Linked DNA regions of Homo sapiens: all the other regions are linked to region 3. Evidence: promoter capture Hi-C in 16 types of primary human blood cells and fetal thymus (Javierre and others, 2016). All regions are on one chromosome and are shown on one strand. The core of a region is centred on a gene start or on the middle of the fragment in contact, and the rest is flanking DNA. Distances in the headings are between cores, read along the strand shown.

Region 1 (4,655 bases), core at 359-2,858, 370 kb before region 3:
CATGTAAAATTCACATTTCAGTGTTATGAATAAAGTTCTATTGGCCCACAGCTATGCTCATTTAATGATGTATTTTCAACCTTCATATTGACAGATTGAACTGAGGCAGGAGAATAGGGTTTGGACCAGGCAACTTAAGGCCAATGTGTGCTGACTTCCTAAGGCTGGATCAAAAGGGAAACACTTGGGTCTGGGGGCAGGGACTCTAAGACCAATTAACACCCACTTCCAAAAGCTAAGCCAAAAGGAAAAACTCCATCTTGCCATGCTGGGATAACAAAGAATCAAAGGTTACTCTCCATACAACCTTCCACCATGTCTCAGATGGAAAGGAAAGTGCCTTGGATTGGCTGTGGGCCAAGTGCTAGCCATCCCCCCATCTGCGTAGGGTGCCGATCCACTCCGTCTCCAGATGACTGCGGACCAATTCACTTCAGCTTTAATTAGCCATGGGCCAAATCCTTCATCCAGATAAAGAATGGACATCTTCAGCGGTGCCATTATTCTTCCTACCACACTCTCTTCCACAATCTTGATGGAGTAACTCCAACTCTAGAGCTAGCAGGAAAGTGAAGCTTAGAAGGTGTATTTGATTTTGTTTTTAATCAGCCCTATCCAGTGTAAGGTACATGTGTGAGGAACAAATTCATGCGTTCGAACTCAAGAATGGACTTAGAGACCCAGAGAATAGTGAAAGTGAGACTTTTAATGACGGTCTTGCAAGACTGGGTGTCTAATGAGCAGGCACACCCAGCGCAGTCACAACAAGCAATTCATCCTCTAGTGCACAGGTCTCTCCACCGGTTCCTCAAAGGCTGAGTACTGTGGGGTCACACTCTTCCCGGACTTTGCCTAGTGATGGTGGGTAGGGGCTTTAGGTGTTCTTTTTTAGGGTTGTCTTGTGGCATTTTGTTGCAGCCCACAATGTATTGCAATCCTAGTTAGCTCAGGGGCTTTTTAAGCATTTGTCTTATGACCTAATGACCTAAGTAGCTGGGCAGGCCGATAAGAACTGACAAAGTGAGCTATTTTGCAGGCTAGTAAACTTTCATTTTAGACTAAATGTCTTTGGTTTGAGTGAGGGCAACTAAGCAAGGGAGGAAGGGGAGAAGGGAGAGGCCGACAAGCAGGCATCGGCTATCCAAGCAGGGGCCTAGTATATCTTGTTTCTTCTGTAGTTTGCTGACCTAAGCCAATTCAAGGCACTTTATCTTGGAAATGGACCACTGTATACATTATTTCCTTCACATGGATGTGCTTTGGTCAAGGAATAGGCCGAGGCAGACATCCAGGCCTGCATGACTCAGCAGGGTTGGGGTGCAGGCTCACACCTCCACTTGTTATATAACTGTTTGTGTAAGTTCATACTTGGCTCTACGCCACTATTGTCTGTAAAAGGTATGACTGCCCTGCTGACACTGCACGGGGCTCTGGGGACATGGCTGGGCTTGGCTCTTGGGCATGGCTTGACGTGGTTGGGTGCGCTGGTGCCCAGAGGAAGAGAGAGCCAAAGCTGTCCGTCTTGCAGGTGGGCAGTGGGGAGCCCGGAACCAGCTTGTGCCCAGAGAAAGAGTTAAGCTGCTGACCCTGAAGGCAAGGGAGAGCCGGCAGCACAGCGGTGTATGGGAGCAGCCCACTCAAGCAGCTAAAACAGGGCGGACGGTGTGAGAAAACTACTGATGAGAGAAGAGTGTGTAAGAGCTGTTGATGAGAGAGCTGCTGAATAAAACTACATTTCACCTGCCTATGGCACCCGCCCAGTGTTTTTCACCTATCTGCCCATCCGCCCACTCCCCTTGGACCTCAGTATGGGCCCGAACCTGACCCCAAGCAGGACATTTGGCGTAGTTGTGGACCTGACATCCGGCTCCTGTCCTGTTCCCCAAATCTCCAGGATCCAAAGCCTAGATGATCCTTTATTTTCTATAAAGCAAGACATGAGTTTGGTACTCATTTTTGTAGCCGATAGGGCCCTCAAAAGGAGTCGTTAAAACCCAGAAAACTTCGTAACCAGGCCCGTGAGCTGCTTGCTTGGGCCCACTCCCACCTGTGGAGCGCTTTCCACTTTAATAAATCTCGCTTTCGGAGAATGGCGTGAGCCCAGGAGGCAGAGGTTGCAGTGAGCCAAGATCACACCACTGCACTCCAGCCTGGGCGACAGAGTGAGACTCTGTCTCAAAAATAAATAAATGAATAAAATAAAATATCATTCCCTGCTTTCACTGCTTTGTTGCTTTGTTTCATTCGTTTGTCACTTTGTGTGTTTTGTCCAATTCTTTGTTCAAAACACTGAGGACCCGGACAACTCACACTCAAGGCCCTCCATCTGGTAACAGAATAGTTGTGATAGATACCATGTGGCCCGCAAAGCCTAAAATATTTCCTTTCTGTCCCTTACAGAAAAGGTTTGCCAGTCCCTGGTATAGATAATTCAAAAGCATCCACTGAGCAGACTCCCTCAGGGAGCCCAGGAAGTCCTTGGTCTTAAGGCCTGGTGGAGACATGAGCTTTTGCCATCGCATGTTTTGTTTTATAGGAAATAAAGGATCATCTAGGCTTTGAGCCCTGGAGATTTGGGGAACAGGACAGGAGCTGGATAGGGATGATTAAAAACAAAATCAAATGCCCTTTCTAAGCTTCACTAACCTGCTAGCTCTAGAATTGGAGTTACTCCATCAAGATTGTGGAAAAGAGGGTGCTGTCCTGGTGATAGTGAGTGAGTTATCAGAAGATCTGATTGTTTAAAGGTGTGTGGCACCCCCCTCCCTCCCACTCCACCTCCCTCTCTTTCTCCTGCTGTCACCATGTAACAGACTGCTTCCCTTCATCTTCCGCCATGAGTAAAAGCCCCCTCAAAGCCTCCCCAGAAGCTGGATAGATGCTGATGCCATCTTTGAAACTGTAAACCTATAGAACCATGAGCCAATTAAACCTCTTTTCTTGTAAATTACCCAGTCTCAGGTGTTCCTTTATAGCAAGGCAAGAATGGCCTAATACAATGTCCACGTCCTAGTCCCCAGCACCTGTGAGCATGTTACCTTGCATGGCAAAAGGGAATTGACTAAAGTTGCTATCATCTGTCCTTGAGTTGGGGCGAGTAGCCTGGATTATCCAGGTGGATCCAATCTAATCACACGGCTCCTTAAGAGCAGACAACCAGTGGCAGCTGCGGTCGGAGAAAGGGATGTGGTGATGGAAGTAGGGTCACCTACACACTATGTTGCCGGCTTTGAAGATGGAGGAAGGGGGTCTCTGGAGGCTGGAAGAGGCCAGGAAGCAGATACCCTCCTACAGCTTCCTGAAAGGCACACGGCCCTGCTGACACCTTAATCTCAGCCCAGTGAGACCCTTGCTGGACTCTGGCCCACAAAACTATGAGATAATAAGGTAAGGTAAGACATTTGTGTTGTTTTAATCCACTACGTTTTGGTAATTTTTAATACCAGGAAATTTAATAGTAAAATAGTAGAAAATGAATACAGAGGGTGAGCTGGGTCCACCTCTTGAAATCACTATCTTGCCAGATTTTCTCATGTCTCTGATATCATTTTTGGTTGTCTAAATATATTTAGGATCATGTTATGTTTTAGAGCTAGAAAAAAAACCTCAGCGTGTCTTGTGAATGTCCTATTTTATGCTTGAAAATAAAATATTTGAATCTAATTAACTTCATCTTGTTTATCACTGATGGACAGAGACTCAAATTTAACTGTTATTCCCAGTCTGGAGTGATTTGCATCATACGATCAGTCTCTCTCCAAAAGCATTGTATAAAGAGGATGTATGTTTATTTTATTTTTGTTTTATTTTATTTATTTTTTTTTGAGATGGAGTTTCACTCTGTTGCCCAGGCTAGAGTGCAGTGGCACCATCGCGGCTCACTGCAACATCCGCCCCTGAGTTCAGGTGATTCTCTTGCCTCACCCTCCCGAGTAGCTGGGATTACAGGCGCCTGCCACCATGCCCAGCTAATTTTTGTGTTTTTAGTGGAGATGGGGTTTCACCATGTTGGCCAGGCTGGTCTTGAACTCCTGACCTCAAGTGATCTGCCTGCCTTGGCCTCCCAAAGTGCTGGGATTATAGGCATGAGCCACCATGCCTAACCAAGGGGATGTATGTTTATTGTGCATAATCCCTGCATGAGCAAACTTGATAAATGTAGACTTCATTTTAGCAATTTTTTGAAAGTCAAAATAATACAGATTGTGTAAAGGTTATGTCAATTATTAAATTTTTAGTTTATTTCCACTTATGTAGGCATCTATTTTTGTGATGTGACTTTGGAGTACTTCCTCTCTTTAATCTGTTGCATATTATTGGGTAAGCTATTCAACCTCTTCACCAAATCATGAAATCTGCTTGGAACATTTGTAATAACAGATTTTAAGGAGCAGTTTTGCATTTTCTATTTATTTCAGTCATAACAAAAACATTGTAACAGATTTTTCTTCTACGTGCAGAAACATGGACAAATTATACAAACATAATGCTGGGTGAAACTAGACAGACCTAAGAGACTCCGTCATGATATCACTTACATAATGTTCAAAAACATTCGTAATCTATTGTGTTAGAAGTTGCTTGGGGGATGGAGGGATATTGGGAAGTGGCGCAGTGGGAATTTTTAGGATGCTGGCAATGTCCTATTTTTGATC
Region 2 (4,854 bases), core at 1,267-3,766, 340 kb before region 3:
TGCTGGTGCAGTGTGGGGCTGAGCGGGAAGGAGGGTGGCGGCGGCGGGGACGCACTGAGGCCTGGCAGCAGAGACTTGGAGCCCAGCGTCCGGGCGAGGCTGGCAGGGGAGGCCCCACTGCGGAAGGCCTGCAGGTCCGACGGCGTCAGGAAGGAGGCCAGGCCTGGCATGGCATACATGGGCTGCTTGGGTGGGAGCATTTTGGCTGGTGGGTTTGCCTGAGTGCTCTTGGTCTCACCTTGATCTGGGGAGCTCTGGAAGGAGACAGATATCAGTCACTGGAGAACAGAAGAGGGATGAGCCAGAACATGGGCTGTGAGGCCAGGAGGCTCTGCAACCCACTGACACGGCTGCTGGCTGGCTGTCTTGGGAGAGAGCTTGGACTAACCAGAGATAGCACAGGGTCCTTAGTCCCCTTGGCTCTGACCATCCAGTCACCTACTGCTTTTATCTTTGGGGGGCTCCCCTGCCCTTGGGGGAATCCATGCTCCTCAGCCTGGCCAGTGAGACAAGCACCATCCCACTGAGCCAGCTCTAATCATGCTCCTTCCAACCTCTGTGCCTTTGTAGATGTTTTTCCCTTGACTTTGAACCACCTTTTACTTGGCCTGTTATAGACCAGTTTGGATGCCATCTCTTCTGTACCAGGAACAACACCCACCTCCACTTGGGCCACGCATCCGCAGCCACACTTAGCTTCCTACGTTGCTGGTGTTGACAGAGGAGGCCGACGGTGTGGTGAGGAGGTGCCATATTTTGGGGTAGCGTGTCCCAAGCCCCATCAGCGGTCAGAAGTGAAGGCCACATAAAACTGGCAAAACTGGGTTTGAATCCTAGTGCGGCCACTTTAACAAACTGGATCTTTTCAGGCAAGTTGCTCAACCCCTCTGGGTGCTGGGTTCTTGTTGGAAGAAGCCAATGAAATGCATGTAAAGTGCCCAGAATGAGCCTGGCATGCTGTAGGTGCCCTGCAGACATGACCATGTAGGTCTGAGCCATTCTTTCTAAGACCTGGGGTGCCGGCCCTTCCCACGGGCCCCAGTTCTTGCTCCATTCCTCAAGTGGCCCCACTCTGATCAGGGCTGTGCCTGGAGATTCCGGGTGTTACCTTGGAGACGAGGCTAGCCCGGTAGGCTGCCAGGGCCTTCAGATATTCCTTCTTTGCTGCTTCTGTCTTCCTCTTGTAGGCCTGGAAGAGTCAACACATGAGCAACACTGGGGAGAAAGTTACAGAGGAGATGCCGTGCAGGGTCCTGGGGTGGGAAGGCATGGATTCAAGGATCACGAATGGACGAGGGTGGTGGGGTCAGAAGCTGAGTCAGCCAGCCACTGGCCCCTTTCTGGGAGCGCTGCAGAGAAATTGTGGAGACCAGGCCATATCCCAGTTCCTCAGCCAAGTCACTGTGTGGCCTTGGCCAACATGCTTCATCTCTCTGGGCCTCCAGGTTCTATCAGCACAACTGATCACAGAAAGACAATGCCCTTTGAAGCCCCCATTCTGAGCCAGCACAGTGCAGATTTCTTAATGCCGAACCACCTTCGCAACCTAGAATGAACCTACTTGTTCATAGTATGTTAGTTTGGATTCGGTTTGCTAATATTTTTTATTAAAAATTTTAGACCTAGGTTCATATGTTATTGTAGGACTGGTCCCAGTTTGTTCGCACCTCCTTGTTTCCATGGCTTTTGGTAGAAACGAGGAGGTGCAAATGACTTGGAGCTTAGCCTTGTGTGACTTGTGTTGGCCAATAAGACAAGCACAAATGTGATGCATGCAGAGACTGACAAAGTGATCACATATTGGTGAGCCCTCTTGCTACTCTTGGAACTCTTATTTAAAAATTTTTTTTGTATATGAATAAGTTCTTTAATGGTGATTTCTGAGATGTTGGTGAACCTACCACCTGAGCAGTGTACACTGTACCTGATGATAGTCTTTTATCCTTCACTACCATCCTTTTCCCCAAGTCCCCAAAGTCCATTGTATCATTCTTATGCCTTTGTGTCCTCATAGCTTAGTTCCCACTTATGAGAACATACAATGTTTGGTTTTCCATTCCTGAGTTACTTCACTTAGAATAATTGTCTCCAATTCCATCCAGGTTGCTGCAAATGCCATTATTTCCTTCCTTTTTATGGCTGAGTAGTATTTCATGGTGTTTGTGTGTGTGTGTGTGTACATATATATGTATATGTGTGTGTGTGTACATATATATGTGTGTATATATATGTAGCACATTTTCTTTACTCATTGATTGATGGGCATTTGGGCTGGTTCCATATTTTTGCAATTGCAAATTGGGCTGCTACAAACATGTGCAAGTATCTTTTTTGTAAAATTTCTTCTCCTCTGGGTGGATACCAAGCAGTGGGATTGCTGGGTCAAACAGTAGATCTACTTTTAGTTCTTTGGGGAATTTCCACACTGTTTTTCACAGTGGATGTACTAGTTTATATTCCCACCAACAGTGTAAAAGTGTTCCCTTTTTGCCACATCCATGCCAACATCTATTTTTTGATTATGGACATTCTTGCAGGAGTAAGGTGGTTTTGATTTGCATTTCCCTGATCATAATGATGTTAAGTATTTTTTAATATGTTTGTTGGCCATTTGTATATTTTCTTTTGAGAATTCTCTATTCATCTCCTTAGCCCAATTTTTGATGGGATTGTTTTTTTCTTGCTGATTTGAGTTCCTTTGTAGATTCTGGATATTAGTCCTTTGTCGAAAGTATAGATTGTGAAGATTTTCTCCCACTCTGTGGGTTGTCTGTTTACCCTGCTGGTTCTTTTGCTGTGCAGCTTTTTAGTTTAATTAAGTCCCATCTATTTACCTTTGTTTTTGTTGCATTTGCTTTTGGGTTCTTGGTCATGAAGTCTTTGCCTAAGCCAATGTCTGTGGAAGGGTTTTTCCAGTGTTATCTTCTAGAATTTTTAGGGTTTCAGGTCTTAGATTTAAGTCTTCCATCCATTTTGAGTTGATTTTTGTATAAGGTGAGAGATGAGGATCCAGTTTCACTCTTCTACATGTGGCTTGCCAATTATCCAAGCACCATTTGTTGAATAAGGTGTCCTTTCCCCACTTCATGTTATTGTTTGCTTTGTTAAAGATCAGTTGGTTGTAAGGATTTGGCTTTATATCTGGGTTCTCTAATCTTTTCCATGGTCTATATGCCTATTTTTATACCAGTACCATGCTGTTTTGGTGACTATGGCCATATAGTTTGAAGTCGGGTAATGTGATGCCTCCAGATTTGTTCTTTTTGCTTAGTCATGCTTTGGCTATGAGGGCTCTTTTTTGATTCCACATGAATTTTAGGATTGTTTTTTCTAGTTCTGTGAAGAATGTTGGTGGTGTTTTGATGGGAATTGCATTTAATTTATAGATTGCTTTTGGCAGTATGGTCATTTTCACACTATTGATTCTACCCATCCATGAGCATGGGATGTGTTTCCATTTGTTTCATCTACGATTTCTTTCAGCAGTGTTTTGTAGTTTTCCTTGTAGAGGTCTTCCACCTCCTTGGTTAGGTATATTCCTAAGTATTTTATTTATTCATTTATTTATTTATTTATTTATTTATTTATTTATTTATTTTGCAGTTAAAGGGGGTTGAGTTCTTGATGTGATTCTCAGCTTGGTCACTGTTGGTGTATAGCAGATCTATTGATTTGTGTACATTAATTTTGTATCTTGAAACTTTGCTGAATTCATTTACCAGTTCTAGGAGCTTTTTGGATGAGTCTTTAGGGTTTTCTAGGTATATGATAATCCCATCAGCAAACAGTGACAGTTTGACTTCCTCTTTACTGATTTGGTGCCCTTTATTTCTTTCTCTTGTCTGATTGCTCTGGCCAGGACTTCCAGTACTGCATCGAATAAATGGGCATCCTTGTCTTGTTCTAGTTCTCAGGGGGAATGCTTTCAACTTTTCCCCATTCAGTGTAATGTTGGCTCTGGATTTATCATAGATGGCTTTTATTACCTTAAGGTATGTCCCTTCTATGCCGATTTTGCTGAGGGTTTTAATCAAAGGGATGCTCAATTTTGTCAAATGCTTTTTCTGTGTCTATTGAGATGATCATGTGGTTTTAAATTCTGTTTATGTGGTATATCACATTTATTGACTCGTGTATGTTAAACCATCCCTGCATCCATGGTATGAAACCCACTTGATCATGGTGGATTATCTTTCTGATACAACATTGGATTCAGTTAGCTAGTATTGTACTGAGGATTTTTGCATTCATGTTCATCTAGGTATACAATCATATCATCAGCAAACAGCAACACTTTGACTTCCTCTTTACAGATTTGGATGCTCTTTCTTTCTCTTGTCTGATTGCTCTGGCTAGGAATTCCAGTACTCTGTTGAATAGAAGTGGTAAGAGTGGGCATCCTTGTCTTGTTCCAGTTCTCAAGGGGAATGCTTTCAATTTTTCCCCATTCACTATAATGTTGGCTCTGGTTTATCATAGATGGCTTTTATTACCTTGAAGTATATCCCTTCTATGCTGATTTTGGGCATAGAAGGAATACTGGCCTGCAGTTTTCGTTTTTTTGTTGTTGTTATGTCCTTTCCTGGTTTGGGTATTAGGGTGATTGACTGGCTTCATAGAATAATTTAGGAAGGATTCCCTCTTTATTTTGTGGAATAGTGTCCTTTAAAAGTCTGATAGAATTCAGCTCTGAATCTATCTGGTCCTGGCCTTTTTTTGTTGGTAACTTTTTAATTACCATTTCAATCTCACTGCTTGTTATTGGTCTGGTTTAATCTAGGAGGGTTGTATATTTCCAGGAATTTATCCATCTCCTCTAGGTTTTCTAGTTTATGTACATAAAGGTGTTCATAG
Region 3 (4,700 bases), core at 1,728-4,227:
CAGAGCTTGCAGTGAGCGGAGATCGCACCACGGAACTCCAGCCCGGGCGACAGTGCGAGACTCCGTCTCAAAAAAAAATTATTTTAATATATTTTTTGAGACAGGGTCTCACTCTGCTGCCCAGGCTGGAGTGCAGTAACACAATTTAGGCTCACTGCAGCCTCAACTTCCCAAGCGATCCTCCCACCTCATCCTCCCGAGTAGCTGGAACTAGAGGCACGCACCACCACAGCAGGCTAATTTTTGTATTTTTTGTAGAGATACGGTTTTGCCATGTTGCCCAGGCTGGTCTCGAACTGCTGGGCTCAAGCAATCCGCCCACCTCAGCCTCCCAAAGTGCTGGGATTATAGGAGTGAGCCACTGCACCCGACCATATTTCCTTTAATAGTGGGCTGTAGGCTTGAAGAAAATGGGCTCTGTGTTACATGCATGATATGGAAGGTACAGTTTACCAAGGACACTCAGCAGAGCAAACCAGGAGCTATCCCTAGGGTGAGTGGGTTGGGGTACAGGGAACACAACTTCTTGGCCTCATACTCCTCATAGGAGCCAGCTTGGTTTGAGGCACTAGAATTCCACTGGTCTGGGGTAAGAGCCAGATCTCAAGATCTCAAGAAGCCCCAGGAGAGCACTGAGTAAGCCATTGATCCCCCACTCTGAGCTAGGACTTTGGGTTTTCTTCCATGGGGAAGAATATGCTCCGTGTGTGTGGAGAAAAGAGAAATGAATGCTGGTGACGAGAAGGGCAGACTGGGGAAGCCCTCAGGACTTCCCAAAGTTCCTATTCTCCTCCTTCTGGGCATGTGGAAAGACCGTACCTCCTTGCTCTTTGAAGTTAGGTAGGACTTACTTTGAACCATGAAACAGTAGCGGAAGTGATGTTTATCATTTCCTGGTGGAAGCTCGCGCATGACTCCCCACATCCTCTTCCTTCTTCTAGAAGGAAGCAAGTGTTGCTATGGAGGCTCCATCAGCCTGGCTCCATTAACCACAAGGAGCAGATCCCCAATACCCCTCCCCAACCCAGAAACCTGCTTTAGACTTGAAAGTGACTCATAAGCCTTCGTTGTTTTAAGCTACTGAAGTTTTGGCACTGTACGTTATTGCAGCCTAACCTTGCCTATCCTGACTGGCACACCCAGAATAAATGGTGTAGTTATGAAAGATGCCTTTTTTTAGAATCCTTTGTCTAATCTTTTGTCTATACCTGGGTTCCCATTACAATTTCTTACTATGACATCAGTGAGTGTCATGTTGCTAAATTGTCTGCATGTCATATGATAGTAACAAGACATCCCACATGTATGATCAGTTGCAATTATGTAACAATGTAGACAAAGCCAATCACTTCAATTCTCAAAAAAGGCTGAACACCATAGCTAGGATGTGGAGAGATGGAAAAAGTGTCATTTACAATGACAAAAAAAAAAGAAAAAGAAAAAACCATAAAGCATCATAGATTAATTTTTTTTTAACGTGCAAAAAATAGAAAGAAAACTACAAAGCCTACCTGAAAAGACACCATCAATAGAGCTTAGTAAATACCAGGAAACACACACACACACATACACACACACACACTCACACACACACCTTCCCCAAGGTCACATGGCTGGTAAGTGGCAGGAGGTAGAATTTGAATACAGTCAGCTTCCTTAACCACCACCAAGAATAGGATGGGTGAGCTTTTTCTATAATGGGCCAGACAGAAAACATTAGAGGTTTCTAGGTCATCTGGATTCTGTTGCAACTACTCAAATCTAGCTCAAAAGCAGCCAATGGACAATATATAAACAAATGGGTGTGGCTGTGCTTCAATAAAACTTTATTTACAAAAGCAGATAGCCATCTGGATTTGAATCATGGGCCCATAGTTTGTTGACACATGATCTAGAATAACAAATCCTTGAAGATAGTCAAGGCTTTTGGGGGGAAAACTAATAACAAGCAGAGACTTGCTCTATCAGATATCAGCACATAAAGCTACAAAAATTATTTGGAATTGCATTATATTTATGTATCAATTTAGGATGACTATGTAATTTATGTAATTTAGTTTACAGAGAATATTCATTTATGATTTTGAGTCTTCCTATTCAGGAATATGGTATTTCTCTACTGTCACTCAGATCTTGAGAAACAATTTAACAGGGTGGGGGGTGGGAAGGAGCTCCAGGCCAATTTTTAGAAGAAATCCTACCTAACACCAGACATGTAAATAGAATGTCAGAGGACCAAAACCACTAACACCCTGAGATATGTGTCAATTGCGTCCATTCAGACTTTGGTCCAGTTCTGTGAGGGACAACGGCAGGGTCGACCTAAGATGGGGCGTTTTATAGGAAATGTTTCCCATGTTAAGCTGAACACCAAAAGGCTTCACCTTCTGCGATATATGAATAGATTTAAACCCTTCCCCCACACCCAAGGAGACTAGGCTGCTGTGGGCCTCAGCAGAGCAGAAGGGTAAAGAAAGACGGCCCTGAGAATCACATCCAAAAACCAGCCCTGGCAAAGCGCAGGGGCTCACACCTATCATCCCAGCACTTTGGGGGGCTGAGGCGGGTGGATCACCTGAGGTCAGGAGTTCAAGACCAGCCTGGCCAACATGGTGAAACCCGTCTCTACTAAAAATACAAAAAATTAGCCGGGCATGATGGCAGGTGCCTGTAATCCCAGCTACTCGGGAGCCTGAGGCAGGAGAATCACTTGAACCTGGGAGGCGGAGATTGCAGTGGGCCAAGATCGCACCACTGTACTCCAGCCTGGCAACAGAGCGAGACTCTGTCTCAAATAAAACAAAAACAAAAACAAAAAACAAATACGTACAGTTAAAAGACTTAAGTCACAACATACATCCATGAGCAATTTTAGATGGCAGCATTCCCAAAGCCATCCACCCCTCCCAAGCAGTGCACAATAGCCTCTTCCTGATGACTTAGGCTGCCCATTGTGACCACCGGTGACTGCAGCTTGACATCATAGTATATCCGTGAGTCAAGCGGCTGTGGGTTTTTGGCTCTTGCATCTGCTATAGTTCTGTCTCGGGTGCCATTTGCTAACTCTGTTCTCTGTGTAGCTGCTTTTGGCAGCTCCTCATCTCTCTTCTAATCCACCACTCACAGTCCTAGAGAACAGACCACAAGTTAAGACCGTCACCTACAGAATCCCAAGGGCCAAAACTGGGCAGAGGACAACTCCATCCTTCTTACAAAAGGGCTTCTCCACAAGAAGCATTTCCGTTAGACTCTAGCAGTGAGATACCCTGCTTCAAGAATTTCTCATGGAGCCAGAAGCCTTTGAAATTTGCCCTTATGATCCTCACCACCGAATCCCACTCAGCAGATTCCAGTACCACCTGGCATCGTGCAGGAGAAAGAACCCCAAGAAAGCCAAAAAGATGGCCACCTGCAAATACAACGCCTGCCACGTGGTCCCCATCAAAAATCTGGAGGAACATGAGGCTGTTTGTGTCAACAGGAGCGCTGTGGAAGAAGAGGACACCGAGAACCCTCTGAAAGTCAGTCCTCCTAGTTCAGAGCAGAACGATGACACCCAGCAGGTCTCACCCTGCCTTCCCAGCCCCGATATCTGGAATGTCGATGGCGCTAATTGCCAGCATGTGTTTGTCCTTAAGACTTTTTTTCCTCAAAAGGTTGTTTGTGAAAATGACACGAAAGAGTCAGCAAGAGAGACCAGTCCCCAGAAGATCCTCAGACCAGGACAGTAAACTGCCAGCTGAGGAAGGAGCACACGCCTCATCAATGCATGGAAGAACGTGCAATGCATCAGAATAAAAGACATGCAAAGTAAACTACCCTGGGCTACCTCTTTTTTTAACCTGGCAGATTGATAAATATCAAAAGGCTTAAAATACTCTGCTGGCAAAGGTAGGGCAAAATGGGCACTTTCATAACATTGGTGAGAATGTCAGTTGGTACAACCTCCACAGAGGGCAATTTGACAATAGCTATAAACATTATCAATGCATACAGGCTTTGATTGAGCAATTCCACTTCCAGGCTTCATTCTGTAAATATAATCACACATGTGGAAAATGAGCTAAGTACTAGCTTATTCACTGCAGCATTATTTGCAGCAGCAAAAGAGTTAGAAATGAGCCAGGTGTGTTGAATCACAGCTGTAGCCTGTTACTCTGGGAGCTGAGGCGAGAGGATCGCTTGAGTTCAGCCTGGGCAACATAGTGAGATCCTGTCTTAAGCAACAAAAAAAAAAGTCAAAAATGACCTAAATATCCATTAAAAGGGCCTGATTAAAAATAAGTTATACTGCAGCCATACAACAAAATATTATGCCGCCTTAAAAAAAGTGAGGAAGCTCTTTCTGTGCTGATATAGAAAGGTTGAGACACACTGTTGAGCTCAGAGGTCAGCAAACTGTTTCTGTAAAAGGCCAGATGGCAAATATCTTAGCCTTTGTCAGCCACACAGTCTGTGTTGCAACTACTCGGCCCTGCCACTGCAACACGAGAGCAGCCACATATAATATGTAAACAAATGAACAGAGGTTCCAATAAAATGCCTTACAGCCACAGGTGGCAGGCTGGACTTGACTGGTGGGCCATGGTTTGCCAACCCCCAGTTTAACTGATAAAAACCAAGTCCAGGCCGGGCCCGGTGGCTCATGCCTGTAATCCCAGCACTTTGGGAGCCGGAGGCGGGCCAATCACCTGAGGTGT
Region 4 (4,510 bases), core at 960-3,459, 350 kb before region 3:
TAAAAGCCATTAAGTGAAGGAAGCAGACACATAAATATGTACATACCCAGTACTTCCATTTGTATGAAATTCTAGAAGAGGCAAAACCTAGCTGTAGTGACAGAAATCAGAGCAGTGGCTGCCTAGAGCAGTGGGGGCAGGGGTTGGCTGGAAAGGGGTGTGAGAGATTTCTAGGGTGACAGGAATGTCCTGTAGCTTGACTGGGACATACACGTGTATCAAACTCATCAATCTGGCCAGGCGGGGTGGCGCACACCTGTAATCCCAGCACTTGAGAGGCTGAGGTGGGCCAATCGCCTGAGGTCAGGAGTTGAAGACCAGCCTAACCAACATGGTGAAACCCCATGTCTACTAAAAATACAAAAATTAGCCAGGTGTGGTGGTGCATGCCTGTAATCCCTGCTACTCGGGAGGCTGAGGCAGGAGAATCCCTTGACCCCAGGAGGTGGAGGTTGCAGTGAGCCAACATCACGCCACTACGTTCCAGCCTGGGCAACAGAGCAAGACGCAACCCTCCATCTCAAAAACAAGAAAACAAAACCACATCAACTGTACATCAATCTAAAATGTGGGCATTTTAGAGGCTGTAAATTATACCTCAATTTAAAATGAAAAAAAAAATTAAGATCTTTTAAAAGCAAACATTAGCCAGGTCCTAGCTTTCCCAAGCCAAATGTCTGTCCATCTGTCAGTTATGACCAGTCACACATTTGGCCAGTGACATTTGTCAGGGTGGGTCAGAGTGTCAGTTTGATAATTCATGCTCATGTGATCAATCTGACAGTAGGGTAATGGGCTGGATCTTGGTCAGCAGCAGCCTCTTGGATTTGGAGGTGGAAGGGATGGCTTCCCATTGGGTAAACATTGCACCATGGTGAAGGGTCAGGCATTGGTCTGCCTGGTTCCCACCCAGGCTCCCCCGCTGTCAAGCTCTGTGACCTTCGGCAACTCACTCACCCTTCTGAGCCTCAGTTTTCTCATCTGTGAAATGTGAACAATCATTGCATCTATCACATGGGGTTGGCGAGATGATGAAATGAGCCAATGGGTCTGCAGTGCCCAGCAGAGGCCCCAGCACACGTGCTCTGGCAGTGGGATCTGTTATTCCTGTTTTTATTTCTCCATCTGGCGGCAGGAAAGGATACAAGTGGAGGCACCTTTCCTGTGTTTCCAGGCAGATGCTGCCGCTGTTTGCTGGAAGAAGAGCTCAGGACCTGGGGAGGAGGGGCAGGGCTGAGGAGGCCTGGGTGCGGGGAGCTTCCCCAGAGGGCCGTGGGAGAGGGGACCCTGCAGTCTGAGGTCAGGCCTGGCCTCTGGTTCTCTACCTCCTGGGGACAACTCAGCCAGCTTGAAGGCAGGGTCTCCCATCACAGGCAGGCAGGAAGCCAGCTCTGTAGGCCAGCAATGGCAAGTGGGCAGAAGGCTGTGACTGGGGCAGGGGTCCCAAACGGAGGTAATGACAGCACAAAGTGTCCCCCAGTCCCCTCCTCCTGTCAGGGAGGGGAGCAGCTGATAAACTCATGCTCATGTGGGTATTTGGAACTAATACAGTCACCCTTCTGGGGGAACTTCCGGTTTAAAAGAGAAGTCTGGATAGAGCAATGCATAACTCAAAGGAATATTTTGCTCCAGTGAATTTCAGGTGATACAGCAGATCTATTTTTCTGGTCAGGGGCTCCGGTCCAGAGTAACCCCTTCTCATTGCCACCCAATAAAAGAAAAAATAAGTAACAACTGGGGACCCACCTGTTTCACCTTCTCACAAGAGAGAAGGATGTTGGCAGTGTGGTGCTGCGGTGTTCTGAGTTCTGACATCATGCCAGGATCATCCTAGGATCGTAGCACTTAGTATGCAGTAAAGCCCTTAAAAGTGATATCATATTGTCTTGTTAAGTTGTCAGAGCCACTCCGTGGGGTTGTAGGTGTAGGGCAGTTGAATATGGAGGCTAAGCATGGAGGTGAATGACCTGTGTCACCTACTCGCAGATGGCAGAACTGGAGTCAAACCCATTGTCTGACCGTAAATTAGCCCTCTTGGCTCCTAATCATTCTGTTAGGCCTGCTACACTGCTCTGCAGTTCCTAATTATGACCACCAGGAGGCACCACCACTCCACACGTGAGTACTCTCCGCACTGTTCCTGAGAAGTGAAGGCTTAGAATCACGTCACTACTTTCTTATTTACCACAGTAATATTAATAGCTACTATTAACTTAGCACTTGCTATGTGTCAGGACTGCACTAAGCACTACATGCTTTATTTCATATATTTCTCACACATCTCTAACATTTGGACCAGACTGTTTCACAGAAACAGTGAAATTCAAAATCAGGTCTGTGTCTTCAAAGCCTGTCCTCTTAACCATATATCCTCAGTGGAGATCACCAACTAGATGCTTGGAGGCTGCATTTGGTCAGCAAACTTGGTTTTGTTGGTTGGTTTGTGTTTGGTTGGTTTTTTTTTGTTTTGTTTTGTTTTTTGGCTGGGATGGTGTTCCAACACGCATTGAATTTAAATGCTTTTTGGCAGGGCAGTCCCTCTCCACTTAGCCCCAGTCCTCATCACTCTCTCTCATATGTCCGTCCCTCTGTCTCCTTCCTTTGCTTATGTTATCTGCCTGACCCTGACGTCACTGGAATTTGCAGCTTGTGGTTGTGAGTTCGTCGACTCCCTTTATACTAATAATATATTGTAGATGGGAGTCAAGGGATTCCAGGGCAGCTTGGAGGTTTAGGAAGGCACCCAGGAAATGTAACAAATGGTGTGGCCAAGAGTCACTGTGGAGATGCGGGAGGCAGTCCTGTCCTTCAGTGTCCTCCCAGGACCTATCAGTAAGTGTCCCTTGTGCTGTGTCAGCATAGCGTGCATGGCACCTGCAAAGACCTGTGGATTTCCTGGGCTGGACGGTGGTGAGCTGGAGGTGGAGCATGCCGCGTTTCGACTTTGCAATACCCTCCCAGAAGAGTGACCTGGCTACTGTGCACTCACACAGAATCCTTCCTGATTTGCGTCTGTTTCCTTTCACCTGGCCCATGAACCAGTGGTTAGATTTAACCAGCACCGTGGGGTTTCTAATCATTATTGAGCACCCCATCTACAGGGACTGAACTGTGTTCCCCCAAACTCACATGTTGAAGTTCGAACCCCCGGTGCCTCAGAATATGACTGTATTTGGAGACGGGGCCTTTAAAGAGGTGATTACGTTAAAAATGAGGCCATTAGGATGGGCCCTAATTCAACCTACCAGGTGTTCTCAAAGAAGACGAGACTCAGACATGCAGAGAGACCCCAGAGGTGGACAGGCGCAGAGGGATGGCCATGTGAGGACACAGAAGGTGGTCATCTAGAGAGGCCTCAGAAGAAACAAAGCCTGCTAGCACCTTGACCTTTGACTCCCAGTCTCCAGAACAGTGAGAAAATTAATTTCTGTTGTTTAAACCATTTCTGTTGTTATGGCAGCCCAGGCTGACTAATATGCTGTCCATCAAAGGTGGGCGGAGTTGAGGATGTAAGTGTGGTCAACAGCCGGCCTCGCAGGGCACTGTAGCTCATGCATGTGATCCCAGCACTTTGGGAGGCCGAGACGGGAGGATCGCTTGAGCTCAGGAGTTCAAGACCAGCCTGGCCAACATAGTGAGACCCTGTCTCTACAAAAATTAGCCAGGTGTGGTGATACGTGTCTGTAGTCTCCGCTACTCGGGAGGCTTAGGTGTGGAGATCGCTGGAGCCCAGGAGGTTGCAGCTGCAGTGAGCTGAGATGGCGTCACTGCACTCCAGCCTGGGTAACAGAGTAAGACCCTGTCTCAAAAAAAAAAAAATAAAAATAAAAAGCCAGCCTGACAGGGGAGGAGGAAGGAGCTTGGAGACCACCCTCCTACTCCCCACTCCCCTGTGGAAGACACGTGTGTGGAGGAATTAATGAATGTGCTTCGTTTGTTACACTCTTACTATTAGTGATGAAAACCACTTCTTCATAGATGAGAGCATAAAGAAGCCAAATTCTTGGTTTCTAAATTCAAAAAGATGGTCTAGGAGTAAGAGGAAGCTGGAAGGGGAGATGCAGTCTGGCTCTCTTCAGATTGGAAGGGTCCACCTACCACCCGCAAAGCCAGGGAAGACCCACCTAAATCCCTGTGAGATTTCAAGACATGGTGGATGAAGAGAAAATCTAAAAGTTACCAGAGAAGGGGGCAAAAAGTAAGCAGTATACAAAGAAATGGGAGGCAGAATAATATTCAACGCTCAACAGCAGCAAGGCTGGAAATGAGAAGTCAATGAAGCCGTGCCTTCAAAATTCAGAGAGAAAGTTATTTTCAGCCTAGATGTCTTTACCCAGCCAAACCACCAATCAAGTGTGAGGGTAAGATGAAAACATTTGCAGAACTGCACCTTTATTTCTCATCCATCCTTTCTTAGAAAGGGCCTGGAAGATGTGTTCCACCACAATGAAGAAGCAAGATAGGAAGGAGGAATGGATGGAATCCTGCAAAGAGAGGACCCATGATAGAG

What was found. The method cuts DNA at HindIII sites, captures the fragments that hold promoters and counts their contacts. A CHiCAGO score of 5 or more calls a contact.
Region 1: a contact is called between a fragment that was not itself captured here and the fragment with the promoter of GTSF1L in region 3, in 2 of 17 cell types (non-activated CD4 T cells and M2 macrophages). The highest score is 7.2, in non-activated CD4 T cells.
Region 2: a fragment that was not itself captured here is called in contact with the fragment with the promoter of GTSF1L in region 3 in 2 of 17 cell types (non-activated CD4 T cells and activated CD4 T cells); the score reaches 7.2 in non-activated CD4 T cells.
Region 4: a fragment that was not itself captured here is called in contact with the fragment with the promoter of GTSF1L in region 3 in 1 of 17 cell types (endothelial precursors); the score reaches 5.1 in endothelial precursors.

What each region holds. Positions count from the first base shown.
Region 1 is chr20:44,094,572-44,099,226 of GRCh38, reverse strand. No RefSeq gene overlaps it. Among named protein-coding and RNA genes, the nearest start is that of JPH2, 90 kb to the left of the region's middle. The HindIII fragment of the contact is 2,061 bases long and covers 578-2,638 here.
Region 2 is chr20:44,061,112-44,065,965 of GRCh38, reverse strand. TOX2 (TOX high mobility group box family member 2) reads right to left here. Exons shown (of 9, transcript NM_001098797.2): 6 at 1,109-1,189; 7 at 1-254. Among named protein-coding and RNA genes, the nearest start is that of JPH2, 120 kb to the left of the region's middle. The HindIII fragment of the contact is 7,560 bases long and covers 1-4,854 here.
Region 3 is chr20:43,725,279-43,729,978 of GRCh38, reverse strand. GTSF1L (gametocyte specific factor 1 like) reads left to right here and starts at 2,977. Exons shown (of 1, transcript NM_176791.4): 1 at 2,977-3,815. The coding sequence starts at 3,285. The coding sequence ends at 3,731. It overlaps LOC101927200 (a long non-coding RNA gene), which reads right to left and starts at 1,060. Exons shown (of 4, transcript XR_936741.3): 1 at 852-1,060. The HindIII fragment of the contact is 9,111 bases long and covers 1-4,700 here.
Region 4 is chr20:44,078,520-44,083,029 of GRCh38, reverse strand. No RefSeq gene overlaps it. Among named protein-coding and RNA genes, the nearest start is that of JPH2, 110 kb to the left of the region's middle. The HindIII fragment of the contact is 6,228 bases long and covers 1-4,510 here.